7 separate regions of the Homo sapiens genome follow, and regions 2, 3, 4, 5, 6 and 7 are each linked to region 1. Evidence: promoter capture Hi-C in 16 types of primary human blood cells and fetal thymus (Javierre and others, 2016). All regions are on one chromosome and are shown on one strand. Each heading gives the region's core, a stretch centred on a gene start or on the middle of the fragment in contact. The rest is flanking DNA. Distances are from core to core; before and after follow the strand shown.

Region 1 (2,616 bases), core at 41-2,540:
AGGGATGCTGCCCAGGTGTTTCCAGAAGCGATAAAACTTGTAAACTTTTATAATTTTCTGAAGTGCGCTGCATGGTAAAATATGGTCATTGTGCAAAAAAGTTGTCCCCAATGCAGTCTCAGGAGTCACTGACTTCAAAATAAAGAAACGGTCTCTTCGTAGTAAATGTAGTACCTCGTGGCTTTCCCAAAGTCATTGAAAACGAATATCCCTAAAAAGGGTGTGATTTCAAGAGTGAATTACGATCCGCCCGCAATCTGTGTACCGTGTGTGGACGAATGCTTGCAGCGAGCGGTGCGGAAGGCTGTTCAGAGAGGTGTTTTTGGTCTGCCGTGGTCTCCTGGGATAGTCAGGAATGATTCTTGCTACGGGCTGACCCGGGTTCCCTCTTCCCCGAGGTGCAGGGGGTGGGGTCGGCTTCTGGACTGCTCCGCGCTCTCCGGTCCCTACCTCATTGGGCACCGCCCACTTCGTGGGCTTCCAGGTGCGAGCCCTCGCGCCGGGCCCATCTCCCCAAGGGGCCGCGGCGGACTGGAGGAGACGCCCGGGGCCTGGCGGCGCGCGCGTCCGCGGCCAGGGCGGGTGGGCGGATGCGCCGAGGAAGCGGCTGGGCGAGGAGCCTCCGCTCCCGGGCCTCGGGTGCCCGCCAAGGGCCACGCGGGCGAGGGGGAAACCCAGAACTTCCCGCCCGGGAGCGACTGCCCCCGCTCCCGGCTCTGGCTGGCTAGGGGGATGTTCTCGCGAGAGGAGAGGGGGCGCGGGGCACCGCTGGTTTGGGGGCGCGGGGAAGCCTGAGGACGAGGGCCGGGCAGGGAGGGGAGCAGAGGCGGCGGGCAGGGCCGGGGACGCGGGGAAGCCGCTCCCGCCAGTCGCCGAGAGCCAGCCCCTGACGTCAGGAGTTTTCCTCAAAGTCAACAACAAGCCCCGCGGCGACGGCGAGAACCGATCGGCGGCGGCCCCGAGCGGGAGGAAGGAGGGGGCGGGGAGGCGGCGGGGGGTCCCCTCAGCGAGGCGCAGCCCGGGAGGAGGCCGCAGAACCCCTCCCCGCGCCGGGCGCGCCCCGGGGCCCAGAGCCGCCGCCCCGCCGGCGTGACCCGGCCCCCGCCCGAGCGGTGTTTTCTGGTGATGAATTTGTAGCCGATATCCGATTCCCATGTAGAGTCTCCGCCTCCTCCTCTCCCCGCCGCCGCCCTCTCTCCTCCCTCCCCCTCCCGCCGCCGCCGCCGCCGCCGCCGCCTCCCGCTCCAGCTCCGCGGCCCGGCCCGGCCGGCTCCCTCCCTCCCTCCCCTGCAGCCCTTCGCTTGCCCTCCCGCCGGCCGCACCGGGCTCCAGGAGGCCAGAGGCTCTGTGGGGTGGGGGGAGGACAGGAGGGGAGGAGGAGGGAGGGGGGACCCCCGAGTCGCCCCCTCTCCTCCCCCCGCCCCCCCCCGGCTCCATCCTCCGCCGCCGCCCGAGCAGCTGCGGGGCCGCCACCGCCGCCGCCGCCGTTGCAGGTAACAGCCACCGCCCCCAACTCTAGCCCCCTCCCCGCCTGGCCTCCACTCCCTCCGGGCCCCGGGCCCCGGTCCGCCCTCCCTGCCTCCCTCAGGCGGGGGATGGCGGCGGGGTGGGGTGAGGCGGGGGCTTCTGGGTTGTCACCGCGCCGGGGGCGTGGGCGGGGGCTGGGTCACCGGAGGCTTCGGGTGTGGGTGTGGAGGCCGGGGGATGCCCAGCGCGGTTGACACCGACACCCCCCGCTTTCCGGGGAAAGCTGGGGGGCGGCGGTGCGCAGCGGGCCGGGGGAGGGGTGTTCCCGGCCTAGCGGTACCGTCTGTGTCTGGGCTGCCCCGGCCCGGCGCCTGCTGTCTGCGCAACTCTCGCTCCTTCCCCTCGCCCCTCCCCGCCCGGGCCGCGCGGCGTGGGGAGGGGGCGCCCGCCTGGACCGGGGGCGGCGGCGAGGTTATATAACGCGTGGAGCGCCGGTGTCAGTGTGTTTGGGTTGGGGGGAGGGAGCCGTCTGCCGCGCGCCCTGGCGCTGAGGCTGTCTGCGCGTGGGGTGGGGTGAAGGCGAGGATGCACAGGCGTCCCCGGGGTCTCCTTCCTTCCCCCACCCTTCCCCGCCACTGGCGCGCAGGAAAAGACGGCACTGGTGGGGTGGGGGGGGGGGTGTGTGTGTGGGAGGTGGGTAACGTGCTTGTCTGTGTTTTTAATAGTAGTGGGGTTTTGATCCGCTTGGGAGTTGTGTGCTAAGAATAGAAATGTGCGGAAGATGCTGGGTTTGGCTGATCCAGTGATGCTGTCGCTGCTGGCGGCGGCGGCAGCTCTGGCTGCAAGTAAACAGACCAGCCTCTTCCTTGTCCACCTCCTCCGGCGCATCGGTCCGCATCAGCCATGATGCCGGTGGGGCCCTTCAGAGCCCAAAGTTGAAGCCTAGCTGGTTGCTGTGTTGACCCTGACGCCGAGGCGGGGTCACCATCCCTTGTTTGGGATTTCCCGGGAATCTACAGTTAGCCTAGAGATAAAGAATCTCGTTGGGGCCAGGTTTTTCCAATACCGGTATTTACTGTTTATGTTCTGAAAGCAGAGGAAATGCTTACCCACAAGTCAAAGCTGGGATGCTCACATTTCTTCCATCAA
Region 2 (2,616 bases), core at 78-2,577, 500 kb after region 1:
CGGCTGGCCCTAGGCAACATTCTAACCACCCTGCAAGGATGTTATCTTTCCCCTCCCAAATTCCCATGCCTTTTGCATTTTGCTGATAGCTACTATGTTCTCTTTGACATATATTTATTGGCATACCTGGTTTACATACTCCTTTCTGACAGAAATTGATTATAGCTAAGTAGAGTGCACATAATATATGGTTATTGAATTAAAGCAACATATGAAGTTTAGGGCAAAAGGGCTCTAAATCTGTCATAGTGGCTGTTCTCAAAATCTAACTTACTATCATTTTCCCTTACAGGTATATGTAAATGGCCACAGTAAAGTGATCACTATGAAGAATAAGGAGCAACACAGAAAAAATGCTTAAGATAATGTTAAATGAAAAAAGCAAAAACCAAAACTAGAATCTATTTATATTTGCAAATATTATAGATGCATATGTACAAAAAGTGGAAGGTAAAACAGAAAAATAAAAACAATTTACACTGTTTGGGTGATGGAACTACTGGCTTCTGTTAATGTGCTTATGTTTATACAATAAATTTTTTTAAATGTATGCATATGTAGTAATTAGTGATATTTATATTGGATATAGGTACTAATATTTCTGGACTATAAACAAAAAGAAAGCATATGTAGTTGTCTTATGTCTAATGTCTCTCAGCTTGTTGGGCTGCATGGACACATTTAAAGAACTGTCACTACCTGGTAGCTACCAGAACTGCAGAGTTGGTACCTGAGAAGGCACTTTGCAAGTTGGCAGTTGGCTGGTAAGTCAACTTTTACAGTCAAAACAAGCATGCAAAAAAATGTTCAAAGAACCAAAACACATGTCATCCACTGAAACTGAAAATATAGCAAACATTATATTTCTTCAGGGCACACAGGAATATTCTTAGAGTCCAGTTTACAGTTTTCTATTCCCATCCAAAGGCAAATATTTATTTCTTAATGTTTCTCCTATAAGGCATATTATTTCTAAGAAAGCTTGTTTTATTTCCTATTTGTACTCTTATCTTCTAAATATACCTAAATTGCTATTTTCAGATGTGTTGTCTCTGCTTATACATTTGATTTTGTAAAATAAATTATTATGTTAAACAGCATTATCATCTTTGTTGGAAAATCAAATAACAAGCAGAAATTAATAGATTCTTTTTTTGAGCATGTTAATTGAAAAGTCAGTGTTTCTATGAATGAGGTATACATACCCTGCCTCAGAAAACAACTGCCTAAATCATTAACAACGTGACTAAATGCTAAATGCCCCAATGATCTCCAACTCGGTATTATTCACTGGATTGATTTGGAACTGCTTCTTTATGCAGAAAAATTGAATTATATTTTTTTACTGCTAATTTTGTGATTTTACCAACATGATGATTTTAGATGAAGAAAGTAATTTGGCACAGCATTTTAGAAAAATAAGTTCAATCAATAACTTAGACTTTTATTAAATGAACATATTTTAAATTATTTGTATAATCCAATAAATCCTACTTGTCCCATTCAAGCATCATCCAGGACAAGAACAAAAGAGGCTGATTTATTAGACATATGTTAGGCTGAAGAATTTTCTCAGAATTCTTGGTTAGGCTGCGATAAGAACACAAATTTCTCTAAGTATGCTGAACAATGCTTTAGGGCATACTTAGAGAAGATGCTATAAAAAAGCTTTATTGCATCACACACATGGAACCAGATTCTCCCTCTCATGGGCTGTAGCCAGCATGAAGTTCACACTACATTAATTTGCACTTGTCGATATGCTGCTTTGCAAGTATTCTTAAGGCATGTTCTAATGTGTACTCTGACTCCTCAACTAGAATATAAACTCCCTAAGGGTAGGACCTGGGTCTCCTAGTTATTACCCCCACAGTGTCTAGCATACTGGTCTGGGTAAGCCAAGCCCTCTGGAACTGCTGTTGTCTTCGTAGGGAGCAGGGACAAGAATGTGCTAAGTCTACAGACTGAAAGAGGGTGTGAAGAATACTGGAGAGCAACTCTGTCATCACCAGGACCGAGTGATTACATGTACCAAAGGCAGGCCCAAATGGCCCCTCTCCCAGTCATTTTGTAGAGGGAGAAGTGAGACTGCAGGTGGTAGTTGGATAAGTTTCTGAAGTCTGGCTCTTGAGAAGTCATCCATTATCTTAGCATATTCCCCAAAAACCTTCTGAAAAAGAGTACACAGCTTTAAAGACACAAAGCAGAGAATAGAACGGAACAGGATTTTACTTTAATCTGTAAGTGCTAGGTTTCAAGTAGAAAAGACTAACACTGCTGTTACCCACTTTTAAAAGATACAACGATGTCTTTCTAGGACGCTTCCAGAATCAAATAGAAGACTGGACCTCAGAGGTCCATGAGCTGGGTCTTCAGGTAAATCATATTGCTGCTACTATTTAAAACTAAAACTTCCAGGGAAAAGGTTCCATGGCCTGTTGCAGCAATTTCAATCTCCTTACTGTCAGAAAATTCTTGTTTCAGGCTATTGTGATTTGTAGTTGCTGTAGTTAAATCCCTTTGTTCTTGTTCTGTCCATATTGAAGACTCAAATCAGGTGTTTAACTTTTTCCTTGAAATAATTTGTCAAATCCTTGAAGATGTGAAGCAATGTTG
Region 3 (2,616 bases), core at 117-2,616, 460 kb before region 1:
GCTGAGGCAGGAGGATTGCTTGAGCCCACTAGTTTGAGATCCGCCTGGGCAATACAGTGAGCCCCTGTTTCTACAAAAAATTAAAAATTAGCCAGGTATGGTGGTGCACACCTGTAGTCCTAGCTACACGGGAGGCTGAGGTGAGAGGATTGCTTGAGCCCTTGAGGTCAAGGCTGCAGTGAGCCATGTTTGTGCCACTGCACTCCAGCCTGGGCAACAGAGTGAGACAGTGTCTCAAAAAGAAGGAGAAGGAGAAAGAAAGAGAAGGAGAAGGAGTGGAAGAGGAGGAGGAAGAGGGAAGAGGGAAAAAGGAAGAAGGAAGAAAGAGAAGAGAAAAGAAAACCAGGAAAGATGGAGTAAGAGTGATAAGACTAAATGTAACTCTAAAGTTGAATTTTTAAAAAAATCTGAAGTCATTCAACATACAGGGCAATGGGCAGTCCTCAGAACTATGCATGGATGTGGATTTCTCCAGAGTCAACAGTCCTAGCCCTGGGAGCTCAGCACTGGGTTCTTGGTTCTATGACATAGACAAGACTTCCAATCCTCCATTTGACTTGAACAAAGCCTCTCATGGTCACGACCAATTTCTAGATCAGCTCCCTCTGCAGAGGTATCTTATCCACCCCAAATCAACACTCAAGTCTCCTGAAGAGCAATGAAATGACAAAGAACAAAGCATTTAGATAAAAAGACTGGGAGCTCTCACTACTCATTCGAGGAGGGCCACCCCCAATCTGCAGGGACCCAGGGACAAAACAAGGTCCCTGTCTGCCAACAAGACAGTGGCAGAACCCGTGGATGTGCAAACATTTGAAATCTTGCCTTGTTCTCTCCCAAATGTTTCCCAATGAAAACCTTCAAATAATTTCAATAACAGGTTTAAAAAATCTACACAGGCCAGGCATGATGGCTCACGCCTGTAATCCCAGCACTTTGGGAGGCTGAGATGGGCGAATCATGAGGTCAAGAGATCGAGATCATCCTGGCCAAAATGGTGAAATCCCGTCTCTATTAAAAATACAAAAATTAGCCAGGCATGGTGGTGGGTGCCTGTAATCCCAGCTACTTGGGAGGCTGAGGCAGGAGGATTGCTTGAATCCAGGGAGTGGAGGTTGCAGTGAGCCGAGATTGCGCCACTGCACTCTAGCCTGGTGACAGAGCGAGACTCCATCTCAAAAAAAAAAAAACAACTACATAATTTTTTTGAAATAATTTATGTTTTTTTGAGACAGGGTCTCACTCTGTGTCACCCAGGCTGGAGTGCAGTGGCGCAATCATGGCTCACTGCAGCCTCAACCTCCTGGGCTCAGGTGATCCTTCCACCTCAGCTTCCCGAGTAGCTGGAACCACAGGCATAGGCCACCACACTTGGGTAATATATATATATATATATATATATATATATATATATATATATATATATATTTTGGTATTTTTTGTAGAGACGAGGTTTCACCATGTTGTCCAGGTTGGTCTCAAACTCCTGGGCTCAAGCAATCCTCGCACCTCAGCCTCCCAAAGTGCTGGGATTACAGAAATAAGCCACCACACCCAGCCTATCTTGAAATAGTTTTAAGTGTATAGAAAAGTTGCAAGAACAGTACTGTTAAATAAAATTTATGGGAGGCCATATGGTTTGGACTGAGCTCCTGTACTAGACCCAATGACCAAACCAAAACAGAGTCCCATATGTTGAAGTGCCATGTCCCCAAGCTGAAACTAAGTTGTTCATCTGACCTTCTGAGAAATCAGGAGTGAGAGAGATAATAGCCAAATCCCCAGACACTTTAGTTGGCATGACAAGGAAGCCTCCCTACTTTAATCTTTACAAGGAAAGTAAGTTTGAAACAACCAATCCACTTTTTGTTCTGTTTCTGCTTTCCTTAGCCCTTTTCTGTCTATAAAGCCAACCTCCTCTGCTCTGCTATATTAGTCTGTTCTCACACTGCTAATAAAGACATACCTGAGACTTGGTAATTTATAAAGAAAAAGAGGTTTAATGGACTCACAGTTCCACATGGCTGAGGAGGCCTCACCATCATGGCGCAAAGTAAAGGAGGAACAAAAGCACATCTTACATGGTGGCAGGCAAGAGAGTGTGTGCAGGGGGAGCTGCCCTTTATAAAACCATCAGATCTCATGAGACTTATTCACTATCACGAGAACAGCATGGGAAAACTCGCCCCCATGATTCAATTACCTCCCACTGGGTCCCTCCCACAACACGTGGGAATTATGGGAGCTACAATTCAAGATAAGATTTGGGTGGGGACACAGCCAAACCATATCATCTGCTTATTGGAGCACTCATTCTATTATATAGAATGAGGAATGAGGTGTAGCTGGATTTTAGAATCATATGTAAAAGCCAGTTAAGATCTTTAAACTAAATTTATTGTAATTTTGTCTTTCAACAGTACACAAAGAACTCTTGAATCCCCTTTTATCATTTTCTGAACCATTTGAGAGCAAGCTGCAATCATAAGATCCAGCACCTCTAAACACTCCAGAATATATTTTTAGATATAACCCTGTAATGGCTGAAAAGTGTTCCCCCCAAATTCACATCCTCCTGAAACCTCAGAATGTGACCTTATTTTGAAATAGGGTCAT
Region 4 (2,616 bases), core at 71-2,570, 440 kb after region 1:
ATCCCCCTGTAAGATGTATACATACAACTACCCGCTTCAGGCCTAACTCAAAATTCTTCCCCTCTCCTTCCTCTCTCCTGAATTAACTATTCTTCCCTCAATGACCTCAATATATGTTGTGTACATCGTACAAAGATAGTATTTATCACACTTTAGTTATTGTTTAACATGTCTGCTTCGTTTGTCATCTTTATCTCTCTATACCCTCAGCCCAGCCTCAGTGCTTGGCACACAGGAAGTGGGTGGTGAATATTTCATGATTGGATGTTGTTATACTCTTGTCATAGGGGAAAGGAAGGCTGCTATCTTAACGTGTAGCTGGAGAATCTGCTTAAGTCTTACGAGAGGAGGCAAAAACTTTTCAGACGTGTTAGAAAAAGGTGCTTAGAAGAGAATGGTTCTAATGGCTCTGCCAGCTGGAGACCGTGCTGCTAAAGGAGTCAGCTAAAAAAACAAAAAGCCCTGTCAGACCATCCCCAAGTCAGACCCCCTGCCGGGGCAGGAGCCAGAGATAGAAATCTGGGGCTCTGCAACCCCTAACAATTGGGTGACATAAATGCATTCTCCAACACCAATACCCATCTGAAAGTGAAAGGGGCACTATTAATAATTATACCAAGATAACAGTCACAACTGAAACTACCCATCACAAACTGGTACTTACAGTTCCCCAATGTAAAGGGGTTGTCAATCTCACCATCATTCTTTAGAATAAGCTGCCTAATTACTGATATTCTAAATTGACTATAGGTCAGGCACGGTGGCTCACATCTGTAATCCCAGCACTTTGGGAGGCCAAGGTGGGCAGATCACTTAAGGCCAGGAGTTAGAGATCAGCATGGCCAACAAGGCAAAACCCCATCTCTACTAAAAATACACAAATTAGCTGGGCGTGGTGGTGCATGCCTGTAATCCCAGCTACTTGGGAGGCTGAGGCATCAGAATCACTTCAACCTGAGAGGTAGAGGATGCAGCGAGCAGAGATTGTGCCACTGAACTCCAGCCTGAGTGATAGAGTGAGATTCTGTCTCAAAATAGATAAATAAAAATAAAAAATAAATTGACTATAGAAAAGAACTACTGTCATAATTGAAGTCCTTTTTATAAAATAAAACAATTTAAAAGACTTCTACCAACAAATGTTGAGTTACACATCAACTGATGTTTCTCGAATCCTTCCCCAAATTTCCCTCTATTTGGGAAACTATACATTATGTTTCATTGCCTAGAAACATGACATAGTCTTGCTTTCCAACCTCCTTTCCCCTTCCACTTTCCTATGTTGCCTTCTCTCCTCTCTTGCAGGTTCTGACTTGGTAGGCTTTTTATAAATTCCCAGAATGTTAGAACTAAAAGGGAACCTCAAATGTGTTTCATCAAACCCTCTCACTTTACAGTTGGAAAAAAAAAACCTACTTAAAAATCCCCAAGGGTCACAAAGAATTTGAAGTCTGCTTATAGGTTGCATAGTGAATGATTTAAAGGCAGAGGTAGGATTAAAATGTTTTTATTTGGGGAATCCTATTTTATAATACTCTAGAGCAGGGGTATGCAATCTTTTGGCTTCCCTGGGTCACACTGGGAGAATCGTCTTGGTCCACACATAAAATACACTAAAACTAATACTAATGATTGCTGATGAGCTGGGAAAAAAAAAAGGAAAAGAAAAGAAAAGAAAATCACACAAAAAAAATCTCATAATGTTTTAAGAAAGTTTACCAGTTTGTATCGGGCTGCATTCAAAGCTGTCCTGGGCCGCCAGTTGGACAGCTTACTCTGCTTGCGGCCTGGATGGTTTTGAATGCGGCCCAACACAAATTCATAAACTTCCTTAAAACATTATGAGATTTATGCACGGGCCTTTTTGTTTTTTCCTTTTTAGCTCATCAGCTATCATTAATATTAATGTCTTTTATGTGTGGCCCACAATTCTTCTTCCAGTGTGGCCCAGGGAAGCCAAAAGATCAGACACACTGCTCTAGAGGTAATACGATAATGGATTGAAAAAATTATAAAAAGCACGTAGGCATTCAAGGAGCAACTAGAGAAGAATGTAAATCAATGCATTAAGTATTTATCATAACTCTCTTATGTGAAAGGCACTCTGCTAGGCACTGGGTCAAATAAAGATAGATAAGACATGCTCCTTGCCCCTAGCAGGGAGTTCAAAATGGCCAAACAGAAAGTAGATGGCAAAATACTTCGTAAGAAAGGTATAAGGGGAAAATTTACCAAAGCATAACAAAATGAGAGTCAAATCCAGCTGGGTGTGAGAGCCTGGTGAAGGATGGTCAAGCCAGTCTCTCCAATTGGTTTGCTTTAATTCCCACTCAAAACACTGAGTAAAAAAGAATTTCTTGGTAGTTATGGGGCTGAAAGATTTATTCACAATCACTCAAAACGGGAAACAACTTAAACGTGCATCAACTGTTCAATGGATAAACTGTGGTATAGTCTAACCATGGCTAGGAAGGGTAGAAATAACAAGGAACAATGCCACATACAGCACTTGGCTGAACCTCAAAAGCAGTACACGTAGTTTAAAAAGCCAGACACCAAAGACATATATTATGATGTCATTCACAGGCCATTCAAGAAAAGTAAACACTAAGGGAC
Region 5 (2,616 bases), core at 69-2,568, 430 kb before region 1:
CACAAACTCTTATAATCCCACAAACTCTGGGGTCATCTATGTTAAAATTTTAGTCTTATTTTTAAGTCAAGAAAAGGGCACTTATAAAAAAAAAAGAACTAATACCAACAGTAATATTCTGAATTTTTTGTCTTTCCTTGACCTTATAGCAGAAGGTTTTACCCAAGTCATTAAATGTTCTTTGAAAACATAATTTTTAACGGCTGCATATTATTTCCTCATTTAGCTCACCCTTAATTCATGTAGCCGGATCACTGTTGTACCTTTAGGTTTCCAATTGTTCAATGTTATATGTCATTCTGTGATAAACACCCTTGTACACCAAATCCTGGGCGAATCTCCGAGAAACCCAGATGTCAGTTGAGATCATGACATTCCAGGTGACATTGTCTCAGAAGCTCCAATTCTGGTGGAAGCCACAGTCATCCTGAAGCTTTCTGCCAATTGATGGGGGCGTGGCCTGCTCAGGGCTGCCTTCTGCTCCTAGACCATGTCGATCCTGCCATAAAACGGAGCTCCTTCTTTGGATTTCACAACAGGAAATCACTCACAAGAAGCAGTACTGTGTTTAGAAGACACTGCTGAAGATTTTGGGGGTCCAGAGATGGTGCCACTTAGTGATCCTCTTCCTCCTTCCCATTTCTACTCTCCACTCTCTGGTCCTTCTCCTGAGTAATGCAGAGCGGTGACCGCATCCTGGGCAGTGGCAAGGCCGCTTGACAAGCAGACTCTTAAGCGTAGGGCTCATTTCCTACCCAATCATTGACTATAGCATCTTTTTCTCAGCAAAAAATTCGGATGCCAGCGGTTACGTTAATTCTCACACTTAGGAGAGATTATAGCATAGCAGGAGAATTACTAGGTCTAACAATATGAATACGAGACATTGAAAAATGTTTAAAACCAAGGATGAGAGATGTGTGGATAAGAAGAGAAATAACAGCACCATTCGTTTTGATGTTATTGTTTTAGAGACAGTGTCTTGCTCTGTTGCCCAGGCTGGAGGGCAGGGGAGCAATCATAGCCCACTGTTACCTTGGACTCATTCAAGCCTTCCATCTCAGCCTCCTGAGTAGCGAGGAGTATACCACCATGCCCAGCTATTTATTTATGTATTTATTTATTTATTTTTGAGATGGAGTTTCGCTCTTGTTGCCCAGGTCGGAGTGCAATGGCATGATGTCTGCTCACCACAACCTCCGCCTCCCAGGTTCAAGCAATCCTCCTGCCTCAGCCTCCTAAGTAGCTGGGATTACAGGCACGCCCCACCATGCCCAGCTAATTTTGTATTTTTAGTAGAAATGGGGTTTCTCCATGTTGGCCAGGCTGGTCTCGAACTCCCAACCTCAGGTGATCTGCCTGCCTCGGCCTCCCAAAGTGCTGGGACTACAGGCGTGAGCCACCGTGCCCAGCCCCAGCTATTTTTTTTATTTCTGTAGAGATGAGGCTTCGCTATGTTTTCTAGGCTGGCCTCCATCTCCCAAAGGGTTGGGACTATAGGATTGAGCACAGTTGTTTAATTGTTAACATTGCCAGACTCCAGGATCACCATTTTAATGTGAACAGCCAACTTAGCCCTAGGGGCTGGGCCCAGGAGTTACATTTACCTATTAACAACCTGAGAATTGTTCATTAGAAAGGGATTTATAGAAATAATGCTGCACACCTACAACCATCCGATCTTCAGCAAAGCTGAAAAAAACAAGGAATCAGGAAAGGACTCCTTGTTCTCCCAGCACTCTCCTTGTGCTGGGAGAACTAGCTAGCCATATGCAGAAGACTGAAACTAGACCCCAACCTCACACCATGTACAAAAATCAACTCAAGACGGATTAAAGGCTTAAATGTAAAACCTGAAACTATAAAAACCTTGGAAGATCACCTCAGAAATACCATTCTGGACATAGAACTTGGCAAAGATTTCATGACAAAGACATCAAAAGCGATTGTAACTGTATTAGCTCATTCTCACGCGGCTATGAAGAAATACCCGAGACTAGATAATTTAAATATAAAGAAAAGAGGTTTAATTGACTCATAGTTCCACAGGGCTGGGGAGGCCTCAGGAAACTTACAATCATGGCAGAAGGCACCTCTTCATAGAGCAGCAGGAGAGAGAATGAGTGCCAGTAGGGGAAATGCCAGACGCTTAGAAAACCATCAGATCCTGTGAGATCTCACTGACTCTCATGAGAAAAGCTTGGGGAAACCACACCCATGATTCACTTATTTCCACCTGGTCCAAATAATCCCCATTTGACACATGGGGATTATTACAATTCAAGGTGAGATTTGGGTAAGGACACAGAGCCGAGCCATATCAGTAACAACAAAAATTGACAAATGGGATATAATTAAACTAAAGAGTTTCTGCATAATGAAAGAAACTATCAACAGAGTAAATGGACAGCCTACAGAATGGAAGCAAATATTTGCAAACTATGCATTCAGCAGAGGTCTAATATCCAGAATCTGTAAGGAACTTACATTTACAAGCAAAAAACAAACAACTTCATTAAAAAATGGGCAAAGGACATGAGCAGACACTTTTAAAAAGAAGACCTCCATGTGGCCAACAATCATATGAAAAAATGCTCCACATTCCTAATCATTAGA
Region 6 (2,616 bases), core at 85-2,584, 400 kb before region 1:
TGGCTACATAACTTTAGTCTCCTCAACTACAAAATAGGGTTAGTGATAGGTTGGTTATGAGGATTACACAAGAAAGTGTACAGGAAGTAAGGAGGTAGAGGTTGTGTCATTTTCCTAATCATATTCTGAGCTCTTGGCCCAGCACTTAACCAAATGTTAAAGCAGTTAGCTCTGCTCAGAACATGGCAAGCACTTAATCAATAGGAGCTATTATTATTATTATTTAGTGTCTATAATAAAGTTTTATTAGAACATAGCCATACCCATTTGTTCATACATTGCTACAACAGCAAAATTGAGTATTTACAAGAGATCATATGGCCTGCAAAGCCAAAATATTTATTACAGGTTGAGTACCCCTAATTTGAAAATCCAAAATCTGAAGTGCTCCAAAATTCAAAACTTTTTAAGTGCTGACATGGTGCTCAAAAGAAATGCTCATTGGAGCATTTTGAATTTTAGATTTTTAGATTAGGAATGGTGAACCAGTATAGATTGCAAATATTCCAAAAATCCCCAAAAATTCAAAATCCAAAACACTTCCGGTCCAAAACATTTCAGATAAAGGATACCCTTGTCTGGTCCTTTATGCAAAACATTTACCCCAGTTCTATCTGACAACTTGGAGTTTTCCTTTGTGTTTAAAGGTTAAAACAGGAAAACAGGATGTGAATAGTGAGGTATAATATTTTTGTTTCATAAGTGTAAATTTTAGTTCATACATGAACATTTTTTCTAATTTTGAATTGTATATCTAAACTTCAAAGTTATTCTTCTTGGCCAGGCGTGTGGCTCACGCCTGTAATCCCAGCACTTTGGGAGGCCGAGGCAGGTGGATCACCTGAGGTCAGGAGTTTGAGACCAGCCTGGCCAACATGGCGAAGCCCTGTCTCTACTAAAAATACAAAAACGAGCTGGGCGCGATGGCAGGCGCCTATAGTCCCAGCTACTTGGGAGGCTGAGGCAGGAGAATTGCTTGAATCAGGGAGGCAGAGGTTGCAGTGAGCCAAGATCCTGCCACTGCACTCCAGCCTGGCAAACAGAGCGAGACTCTGTCTCAAAACAAAACAAAAAAAACGACAAAAAAGAAAGTTATTCTTCTCTTTTGTTTGAAAACAACAACAGCAACTAATGATTAATACTGCTGTACATTGTATTCTTGTACTAGGGCTGCCATAACAAGACTGAGTGGCCTAAACAACAGTAATAGAAGCTATTTACTATTCCTGAACGGTTGTTTGATTTTGTATGGTGCCTTCCCTCAAGATGCTGCTTAGTAAGCGCACGCTCTCCATTCCCATGGCATGAATATCAATTAACATTACTTTAGTCTTGAGAATCTTATGACGTTTCTTTCTCGAGATAATTGGAGACATCCTTAGGTTTTGGAGAAATGTGGAGTCCAGAAAGAATTTACAATTACAATATACATTTATTGGTCTTGATCACATTAATAAGAAGGGACTGCCACTCCCCATTCATTTTTTCAGGTTCCCACGGCTCCTCTTGTAATATCTCTTTCTGTGCACAACCAAACAGGACTTGGGGGACTTGAGTTAGGGATTCCTCAAGAATTTTGGAAGTAGGTTTATGTTCACACACAAGGATTTGTATTCCTGGTTTGGGTTCATTTTTCCTCCATTCATTCAGCACAGTTGTTGGGAACCTTGTCTCTGGAAGGCAGGGTGCCATGCGCTGCAGGTGAGAAAAAAAAAAGCCAGCCATCCCATTACTGGGTATATACCCAAAGGATTATAAATCGTGCTGCTATAAAGACACATGCACACGTATGTTTATTGCGGCACTATTCACAATAGCAAAGACTTGGAACCAACCCAAATGTCCAACAACGATAGACTGGATTAAGAAAATGTGGCACATATACACCATGGAATACTATGCAGCCATAAAAAATGATGAGTTCATGTCCTTTGTAGGGACATGGATGAAGCTGGAAACCATCATTCTCAGCAAAGTATCGCAAGGACAAAAAACCAAACACCGCATGTTCTCACTCATAGGTGGGAATTGAACAATGAGAACACTTGGACACAGGAAGGGGAACATCACACACCGGGGGCTGTTGTGGGGTGGGGGGAGGGGGAGGGATAGCATTAGGTGATATACCTGTTAAATGATGAGTTAATGGGTGCAGCACACCAACATGGCACATGTATACATATGTAACAAACCTGCATATTGTGCACATGTACCCTAAAACTTAAAGTATAATAATAATTTTAAAAAAAGCCAGTTTTACATAATGAGCTTCTCCTCCATGCCTCTACCTTAACCCAGTTCCGTGGCCATGCTTGGGAACTAGCATTCAGGGTCCTACCCATCTTCCCTGGACTCGGCACAGTCTCCCTTCTTCAAAACTTCCCCAACTGCCTGAAAGCCAATGATTCTACAATCTGTATCTTTAGTCCTAAACTCCTTTCCCAACCAATGACTCAAATGCTCAAGTCTTGGGGAGAAATTCACAGGATGTTGGCTGCGCTTCCATCTCAGGTGTCTTTTGTGTATCTTCTTTGTGAACGTCAAACCAGTTTGGTTTCACGAGAATTTTTGCAGGGCTGTGAAGATCGAGGTTGGGTGTGTTTGTTTATTGGTTTC
Region 7 (2,616 bases), core at 54-2,553, 380 kb before region 1:
AATTTCCTGAACCTTGACTTTTTTCCCTGTAAATTGGGAGTAATAATAGAAACTACCACAAAAGGTTGTAGTGAGGATTGACTGAATAAATGTTACTTGATTGATTGATGAATAAACAGGATAACTTGTGTAAAGCACTTGGTTTTGATAGACAGGTGTCTCTTACATGTAATAACAATCTCCTATTTCCTGGCTAGTCCAAAACCCCAAGAAATTTGAGGTCTCACGGAGTTTGTGGTATTCAGGTCAGGTGGATATATTTGAGGTATGCTTTTCTATTTTGGATTTTATTTCCTCTTTTCTGTTCCACCATGGTAAATGCCTCCTAGCTGGTAGTGGGTGAAAATCTTTTATCCCACTTCTGGGGAAAGCCACCTTCTGGGGAAAGACCTTCTGTGAGTTAATATCCGGAAACAACTGGTTCCTTTCTTCTTGTCTCCTTCCCCTTCCCACCCTCTTTAGCACCTGTGAAATGTCCTATTTTTCCCCCTTTTCCATATGCAGGCTAATTGGTGACATCAACCAAAGCCCTGAAAGTGATTCTGGCAGAAAACGAACATGTCTCTGCGAAGCAGGTGAAGAGCCCGAGACTTTGGAATAGACACACTGGCAGCGACGGGGATGAGACCTCACCAGGGAGGAGGTGCTAAGCCCAACTGCAGGATGTCTCTGGGTGTCCTCCAGGCACCCCAGCTTTGAAGGCACCCCACCAACCCGGGATCCACAAACGTTTCCGCCAGATGTGCAGCCCTTGGAGCAAGTCGTGAAACAACTGCTTTGAAGATGAAGAGCCCTCGGAGCACGCTAAGTAGCTGTATTATTGTCGTGCAGTGTGTGTCACCCTGCGGAGGATTCAACTCCCAGCACTGTCACCGCTGGGGAATTAGTGAAAGGCAAACTCAGCCGGAAATGCCGAGTGCCAAAAAAGAGGAGCGAATAAAATGCTGGGGGTGGGAGGAAGGGGACGGTGGGTGCCTGAGCTTTGAAATTCTGCCACTGAAAGTTCTCTCCCATGGTTCCTTTTCCAACCCGCCCCGAGTGCAACAACTGGACCCGCCATGTGACAGGCGCTGCAGACGGATCGCGTTTCACACATGCAGCTGTAATATCTGGCACACAGGTGTTTGGTTCTGTGTTTGCCAGCTGCTCTGCAGCGCCCTGCTACAATGGATAGGGGTCGGGGGGAGGGGAACCCTCACACTTGTTGCTGCCAAAAGGGAGGAGGGAGCTGGAGATTCCTGCCCCCCGGCCAAGAGCTCAGCATTTGACTCTGCTTGGGTCTCCCCCAGTGCCTGCTTTAGAGGGTCCTGGGGCCTCTTCTCATGGGCTCACCCAGGACTCGGCTGTGGCTGGCTGGGAGGGCGAACAGGGCGTCTGGGAAACCTCCAAGCAAACTGGCCAGGGCCCCAGGAAGCCAGGTCCGGAGGCAGCGCACCCGGGGATAGGAGGCCACTGGGCTGTTGAGTCAGCTTCCAACTTCACCTCTGAGCAATTGTGAAACCTTGGCCAGGTTTCTTGCCCTGTCTGGTCTTAGTTTCCTAATCTATGAAATGGAGTATGTAACTCCTGATCCACCAGCCCTCGTCTGTGAGGACTCCATGAAGCACTCAGGGAAGCAGCGTTACTTTTGTTATTCCCACCTGGGGAAGGTGGGACGGGGCAGAAACTCACCGGGCTCCTGGGCCATATCCCTGGACCCCTGTCATTGAAGCCTGGCCCAGCTGTTCTGGGTCTGAGGCCCAGATATCACCAGTGTCCAGATATCACACAGATCATTGGTTTTCTGCTCTTTTTCCCTCCTCAGGGAGGAAGAGGCCTGGCCATTCAGGACAGTGAAGTCACCGAAGAAAGGTGGCAGCAGGGGAGACTGGGGGTGGACTCTCCAGCCCGTGCCCGCTGGAAGCCCCTCTCCTTTCCCTTCTTAGCACCTGCCGGATGGAGCGTCTATGCAGCTAGGACTGTTATATGGAGGGTTTTCTCCCGCCGTGGACTCTCTGGAGGCTATGGACTGTCTGCTTTGCCCATCATTCTGTCCCCAACACGTTGTCTGCATGAAGTGAAGATTTGATAACTGCCTGCTAAGGGAGCGAAGGAGTGAGTGGGTGGATGAGTGGGACGGTATTCTCACTGCCACAGCTGCTCCCAGCCCTATTTTAAGGACAGAGAATATGCATATTTAAAGGACAGATGCGTGTCTAATAATCCCAGCATGTTGGGAGGCTGAGGCAGGAGGATTGTTTGAGGCCAGCAGTTTGAGAGCAGCCTGGGAAACATAGTGAGACCTCCATCTCTGCCGCAAACAAAGAAAATTAGTCCAGCATAGTGGAGTGCACCTGTAATCTCAGCTCGTGGGGAGGCTGGGGCAGAAGGATGACTTGAGCCCAGGAGTTCAAAGCTGTTGTGAGCTGTTATCATGGCACTGCACTCCAGCCTGGGCAACAGAGCAAGACCTCATCTCTTAAAAGAAAAAAGATGGATGCATGATCACACATGACACGTCCAGCTCCACGTCACATGTCACTCCCCAGCCTCAGACCTATCCTTTGCATCCTCTCTCCACCCTTCTTCTGACCCCTTGTCCTGCTTGGCTCCCTGCTAATGTGCCCATGCCTCGCC

The links. Contacts are between HindIII fragments. The CHiCAGO score rates a contact against its expected background, and 5 or more counts as called.
Region 2: a fragment that was not itself captured here is called in contact with the fragment with the promoter of AKT3 in region 1 in 6 of 17 cell types (non-activated CD4 T cells, fetal thymus, erythroblasts and 3 more); the score reaches 7.1 in non-activated CD4 T cells.
Region 3: a contact is called between a fragment that was not itself captured here and the fragment with the promoter of AKT3 in region 1, in 2 of 17 cell types (monocytes and non-activated CD4 T cells). The highest score is 8.2, in monocytes.
Region 4: a fragment that was not itself captured here is called in contact with the fragment with the promoter of AKT3 in region 1 in 1 of 17 cell types (endothelial precursors); the score reaches 6.5 in endothelial precursors.
Region 5: a fragment that was not itself captured here is called in contact with the fragment with the promoter of AKT3 in region 1 in 2 of 17 cell types (M1 macrophages and monocytes); the score reaches 6.0 in M1 macrophages.
Region 6: a contact is called between a fragment that was not itself captured here and the fragment with the promoter of AKT3 in region 1, in 1 of 17 cell types (total B cells). The highest score is 6.8, in total B cells.
Region 7: a contact is called between a fragment that was not itself captured here and the fragment with the promoter of AKT3 in region 1, in 1 of 17 cell types (total B cells). The highest score is 6.2, in total B cells.

The regions. Positions count from the first base shown.
Region 1 is chr1:243,848,917-243,851,532 of GRCh38, reverse strand. It overlaps AKT3 (AKT serine/threonine kinase 3), which reads left to right and starts at 1,290. Exons shown (of 14, transcript NM_005465.7): 1 at 1,290-1,493. RefSeq lists an enhancer at 1,881-2,381. The HindIII fragment of the contact is 10,171 bases long and covers 1-2,616 here.
Region 2 is chr1:243,350,602-243,353,217 of GRCh38, reverse strand. All of the region lies in intron 12 of SDCCAG8 (SHH signaling and ciliogenesis regulator SDCCAG8), which reads right to left. Among named protein-coding and RNA genes, the nearest start is that of MIR4677, 5.7 kb to the right of the region's middle. The HindIII fragment of the contact is 687 bases long and covers 984-1,670 here.
Region 3 is chr1:244,308,887-244,311,502 of GRCh38, reverse strand. The region is part of intron 1 of LOC105373262 (a long non-coding RNA gene); the gene reads left to right. Among named protein-coding and RNA genes, the nearest start is that of SPMIP3, 42 kb to the left of the region's middle. The HindIII fragment of the contact is 3,025 bases long and covers 1-2,616 here.
Region 4 is chr1:243,411,639-243,414,254 of GRCh38, reverse strand. All of the region lies in intron 13 of SDCCAG8 (SHH signaling and ciliogenesis regulator SDCCAG8), which reads right to left. Among named protein-coding and RNA genes, the nearest start is that of MIR4677, 67 kb to the right of the region's middle. The HindIII fragment of the contact is 4,250 bases long and covers 1-2,616 here.
Region 5 is chr1:244,278,281-244,280,896 of GRCh38, reverse strand. All of the region lies in intron 1 of LOC105373262 (a long non-coding RNA gene), which reads left to right. Among named protein-coding and RNA genes, the nearest start is that of SPMIP3, 73 kb to the left of the region's middle. The HindIII fragment of the contact is 1,766 bases long and covers 436-2,201 here.
Region 6 is chr1:244,249,270-244,251,885 of GRCh38, reverse strand. All of the region lies in intron 2 of LOC105373262 (a long non-coding RNA gene), which reads left to right. Among named protein-coding and RNA genes, the nearest start is that of SPMIP3, 100 kb to the left of the region's middle. The HindIII fragment of the contact is 4,130 bases long and covers 1-2,616 here.
Region 7 is chr1:244,230,164-244,232,779 of GRCh38, reverse strand. It overlaps LOC105373262 (a long non-coding RNA gene), which reads left to right. Exons shown (of 3, transcript XR_949343.3): 3 at 505-2,032. Among named protein-coding and RNA genes, the nearest start is that of SPMIP3, 120 kb to the left of the region's middle. The HindIII fragment of the contact is 4,760 bases long and covers 1-2,616 here.